Linked DNA regions of Homo sapiens: region 2 is linked to region 1. The links are contacts of gene promoters, found by promoter capture Hi-C in human tissues and cell types (Jung and others, 2019). All regions are on one chromosome and are shown on one strand. Each heading gives the region's core, a stretch centred on a gene start or on the middle of the fragment in contact. The rest is flanking DNA. Distances are from core to core; before and after follow the strand shown. Region 1 holds the start of CHRNB1 (cholinergic receptor nicotinic beta 1 subunit). Region 2 holds the start of ATP1B2 (ATPase Na+/K+ transporting subunit beta 2).

What was found. The method cuts DNA at HindIII sites, captures the fragments that hold promoters and counts their contacts. A contact is called where the count stands out against the background at its distance.
Region 2: the fragment with the promoter of ATP1B2 here is called in contact with the fragment with the promoter of CHRNB1 in region 1 in 1 of the 25 tissues and cell types used here (bladder).

The regions. Positions count from the first base shown.
Region 1 is chr17:7,443,795-7,446,355 of GRCh38, reverse strand. CHRNB1 (cholinergic receptor nicotinic beta 1 subunit) reads right to left here and starts at 1,295. Exons shown (of 11, transcript NM_000747.3): 1 at 1,171-1,295; 2 at 947-1,086; 3 at 243-287. The coding sequence starts at 1,228. FGF11 (fibroblast growth factor 11) reads right to left here. Exons shown (of 5, transcript NM_004112.4): 5 at 1,419-2,561. RefSeq lists a silencer at 1,174-1,223. The HindIII fragment of the contact is 9,790 bases long and covers 1-2,561 here.
Region 2 is chr17:7,649,655-7,652,215 of GRCh38, reverse strand. It overlaps ATP1B2 (ATPase Na+/K+ transporting subunit beta 2), which reads right to left and starts at 1,290. Exons shown (of 7, transcript NM_001678.5): 1 at 586-1,290. The coding sequence starts at 697. RefSeq lists enhancers at 720-1,362, 1,637-2,137, 2,138-2,561 and a silencer at 1,231-1,380. The HindIII fragment of the contact is 20,754 bases long and covers 1-2,561 here.

The DNA of each region.
Region 1 (2,561 bases), core at 46-2,545:
CACACACACACACACACACACACACACAGACACACACACACACACACACACAAAATTGGAATTAAAAATGCATGGGGTGTAACTCCTGTAGTAAAGTTAAGTGTTGTTTCTTCGAGCTTTTGCTTCAGTTATAAACGTGTTATCTAAAGTCATGATGTAAAAAATATTCTTACTGGGCTGGATATTCAAGGAAATTGTCAAGGCAGAGGGAAGCCCTTTCCCACCCCGTGGGGTCTCCATACCAGGTCTAAGTACACCTTTGTGCTCATCTCTTCATCCTTCTCGTTCTAGAAGGGAAAAATTTAAGGCGTAAAGGTGAAGTAGGGTGGAGAGAAATGAGGGGGCTCGGGGGGCCAACCTCTCTCCTGGGAACGCCGCCCCCTTTTTCTGAGCCCCATCCTCTCGGGTCCAAGTCCACCTCCCAGAAGCGGCGTTAGTTTAAGACCTGCCTCTATCTCAGAAACACCTCTTCCTGCCGTCTACACTCCCAGCCTATCAACCTACCAGACCCGCCCCTGCCTAGCCCTCCGCCTAGCTCTGTCCCCGGCCCTGCCTTCAGCTCATAATCCACCCAGCCCCGAACCTCCACCCGCTGCCATTTATTGACCCCTGAGCACCAAGCTCCGCCCCACCCTGGGCACTCAGGACTCATGTGGCCCTACGTCGAGGTCCGTCCCCCAGCCCCTGCCTCGTCCCCAGCCCCACTTTAAGGTCCGATCACAGGTCCGTCCTTCACCCTACCCAGTTCTACTCCAGGCCCGTCCACCACCCACGGCCAGAGCTTGTCCATTGGTCTGATTTCGATCCAATCTTCACCAAAGGCTGGTCCATCTCAGCCTGGTCTCGTCCCAGGCCCCGCCCCCAGCCTGTCCCTGGTCCGGCCTTGCCTAAAGCCACGCCCCCGGCCGGTCGGCTGGCCTGACCTCCACCCCCCGCGCGCCCTCACCAGGCTGATGAGTTGCGCCAGGATGAGACCAACGCTGACCCTGACACGGTCTCCCACCTCCCGCGCTGGCCGCACGGAGCTATCATAGCCAGAGAAAAGTTTCTCCCGGAGTCGACCCTCCGCCTCCGAGCCGCGGACGCCTGGGGGAGGAGAGAATAAGTGCAGCCCTGGTGCCTGGCCACGACCGCTGGCCCCGTCACTGCCCCTTCGGGGCCTACACTTACCTGGGGCGAGCGGCGCCCCCAGCGCCCCCAGCAGCATCAGCAGAGCCCCTGGGGTCATAGCCTGGCGGCTCGCTCAGTGACTTCGCTCAGAGAGCCGCTGGGACCGCCAGCACAGGGGAAGTGACGAGGAGCCCGGGAATGTGCACCTGTTGCTGGAGGACAGCCGCCAGCCCACCCGCCCCGCCCCCGGGACTTGATCCTGCCTCGAGCAACTGCCAAGCCCGCCACCGACAGATGACAGACAGCACTTCAGTTGTATAAATCGTCTTTAATTGAGAAAGCTGGAGTGGAGACCCGATCCCCTGGGAGCAGTGCCAGGAGTTGGGTGGAGACTGAGTGGGGTTTGTGTGGGTGAGGGGGCATCTACTCCTCTTGCAACAAGCCAGAAGTAGAACAGCCTAAGGAAAAGTGACCTGCCTTGGAGCCTTAGTCCCTCCCTTAGGGCCCCCTCAGCCTACCCTATCCAAGTCTGAGGCTATGGAAGTCTCCCTCCTAGTTCACTAGCAGGTTCCCCATCTTTTCCAGGCTGCCCCTAGCACTCCACGTTTTTCTGAAAAAATCTAGACAGGCCCTTTTTGGGTACCTAAAACCCAGCTGAGGTTGTGAGCTGTAAGGTAAAGCAAGTTCTATCCAATTAGAAGCTGTTGGGGCGTATGAGGTCTGGAGTGCAAGAGGCCTTCACCCTTCTTGGCCTGACCTGTAGGGGAGAAGGGTGAGACTTATTGCTGAATTGGGGTCTCCTCACTGGGAGGGTCAAGGCTGTATCCATTTGTCCTTTTTATTAAGGACATATTACTCTAAGGACCTCAGCTTTAAAGGGGACCTGGAAGGAATTCCTGCTGAGGTAGCTAAGTATTCATGTCCACCCAACACAGATGCAGGTTCAGTCATGCCATAATTTTGACCCCTCCCCCATCCCAGCTTCCCTACTATGAGCCAGGGATCCTTCCAAAATTCCTCTGCCCTTCTCCAGACTCTGTCTCCCTGGCACGACCTCAGCTGGGTTGAAGGAGCTAGAAACTGCATGTAAAAATAAGCTTAGCATTCTATATGGAAGAATCATATTTTTAGAGAATTATCTAGGAAAAACAAGAAATGGTTCTTGATTCATCCAGAAGTGTTTTTATGAATCATAGCTGGGTCTTTTCCAGAACTCATCCGTAATAGGTATCACTCAAGAAGGCGGGAGGGTGGGGCTAGAACTTACTTAGAACAATAATATGGCTATACAGGCCCCAGCTCCATCCTGGGTAAAAGGGCTGAGAGTCATGATCTATGTCCTAGAGCTAGGATTCAGGGGGAAGTACGGCTCCATAAAGCTCTAGAATTGGGTGTCTCTGGGATAAGAAGGTTAAACCCGTGGTCATCTGAGACTGGTTCCGGTTCAGGCC
Region 2 (2,561 bases), core at 41-2,540, 210 kb before region 1:
CACCGACATGGGAGCAAAACCTGCAGCCTCGGTAAAACTCATACTATCAGCAGCCCCCCAACCCACAAAGCAGTCCCAGAAGGCTCCCAAGGCCAGGCGGTGGGATACAGACAACTTCCGCCGTGAAGAACCCCCCTAACACACCCCCCAAGACCCGCCCCCTCATGAACGTTCCCAGGGTCCAGGGGGTGGGCACGAGCTAAAAATAGACGGGGCTGCGGAGCTAGTGAGAGCCGGAGGGAGGGAAGGGGCGCTCTTTGGAGGTGGGGGACGCCCGTGTGGAGCGGACAGGCCCCGAGAGGGAGTGTGAGCGCCGGCGCGGACACGCAGGCGGAGCTGGCGACCCCCCGCCCGAGGGGGCTCCGCGGGGGGCGGGAAGGCGGCTGTGACCTACTTTCTCCGCCTCCGCACGGCCAGCCGGGGAGATTAGACTGGCGATTCGGCCCCCTCCCAGCCCAGAGCCCGGCAGGGAGGCTGGACGCCGGGGACCCGGGAGGGGAGCTGGGGCCGCGTCGGCGGGACCCTGCGCCCCCGAGGCGTCGCCCCGCGGCTTTCCCCCGCCCCTTGCGTGCCGGCCCTGCGTACCCCAGCTGGTCCCGGTGCGGCCCATAAACTGGTGCGTCCTCGGGTTCCACACGAACTCCTTCCACTCCTCAACCACCTGCCCGCAGCTCTTCTTCTCTTTCTGGATGACCATCTTGGTGGCGCGGGGCGAGTCCGGGCGCGGGGCGGGGGGTTGCGGAGAAGCGGGGGCGCCGCGCGCTGAAGCCCTCCACACACCCAAAAGCACGGGGAGCGAAGGCGGCGCGGGCAAAGGAGACCCCCCTCAGATATGCAGCTGCTGCAGATTCCGGGGTGCACGACCACGCGCTGCGGGGTGCTGGCAGCGCGGCGGAAGATGCACCGATCCTAGGCCCCCCAACTGCGATGAAAAGGGGTGCTGTCAGAGCAGGGGAGAATAACAAGAGGAAGGGGTATGAATGCAGCTTCACCCCCCACCAAACCGTCTAGAAACAAAACGAAATGGGGTGCAAAAACAGACGGCTACAAAAACCGAGCAGAACGCAGAAAAAAAGCGGGGTACAAAAAGGCAGAGAGAGGTGGGGGAGGGGGCCGCCCCGAAATCCAAGATGCAAAGAAGCTGTGGAACGAAGCTCAAGGCTCGCTCCGCCAAGCGGAGACCACTGCACCGGTGGTGGCTCAGCCGCGGGGGTGGGGCGGGGACGCGCAGCTGGGGGACAGCCAGGGATGGGGGGCCCCCCAGGCGGAGGCTCCGCTCCTCAGCAGTGCGAGGCCCGCGGTCGCCGAGCGCGGTCTTTATACTCTGCGGCTCTGGGGGTGCCCGCCCCCTTCCCACCCCCAGAAGCTCCGCCTCCTCGCCACTGGCCCAGGCGACCTCATACATATGTAAATATGGAGAGGTTGGGCCCGCCCCCCTGACTTCTCTTAGGGACCTAGCTGTCTCTCCATTACCCCCACCCCAGGTACTAGACTGGGACAGGGTGGGAGGAAGAGATAGAGGGCGTGTCCGGGCGGAGTAGAGGGAAAGATAACCCCAGAGAAACACAACGGCAGAGAGAGAAGCCGATATATGCTCAAAGGTGGGGGCCCCAGGCAGGGAGTTAGAAAGAGACTAAGATACAGATGCGGCGGAAGAGTCCGGGAGCAGATGGGGCAGAATGTCAGAGGAATAAAGAGCTAGAGATCAAGAAAGAGAGCGAAGAGACCAGCCGGGAGGCTGGCCGAGCCAGGAGGGAAGCTAGGACAGGCCCCGCAGAGATGGATAAAGGCCACCCCCAGAGGGACGTTCCCCTGTTGGGAGCCGCTACCAGTCCCCCAGACGCCTCCTTCTCCAATCTCACAGCCCCTGTCCACACCACCTGGCTCTGTCCACGTGCAGAGGCTTCCCCATCTTCCCATCACGTCTCCCTGAAGCCCTCTCAACACCACATTCCCAGTCCCCAGCACTGCCCTGAGATCCCAGCCCTGCAGCCAGGTCTACTTCGGTTCTCTGCCTCCTGGCACCCCCACCCCCACGTCGGAACTCACCTCCTTATGTGTCTACTTGGGTCAACAAACATTTATTGAGCACCTCTATAGACTGTGTGCTGTAGCCCTGGGGAGGCCAGAGAGGTTACACTGAAGCCACATCTCTCACGGGGCTCACAGTCTAGGGCGGGAGTACACTTGCTCTACATACCACATGTTAAGAATCATTATCTCAAGCCGGGCACGGTGGCTTATGCCTGTAATCCCAGCATTTTGGGAGGCCGAGGCGGGCAGATCACGAAGTCAGGAGTTCGAGACTAGCCTTGCCCACATGGTGAAACCCCGTCTCTACTTAAAAATGCAAAATTAGGCCAGGCGCGGTGGCTCACGCCAGTAATCCCAGCACTTTGGGAGGCCGAGGTGGGTGGATCACGAGGTCAGGAGATCGAGACCATCCTGGATAACACAGTGAAACCCCGTCCCTACTAAAAATACAAAAAAAAAAAATTAGCTGGGCGTCGTGGCGGGAGCTTGTAGTCCCAGCTACTTGGGAGGCTGAGGCAGGAGAATGG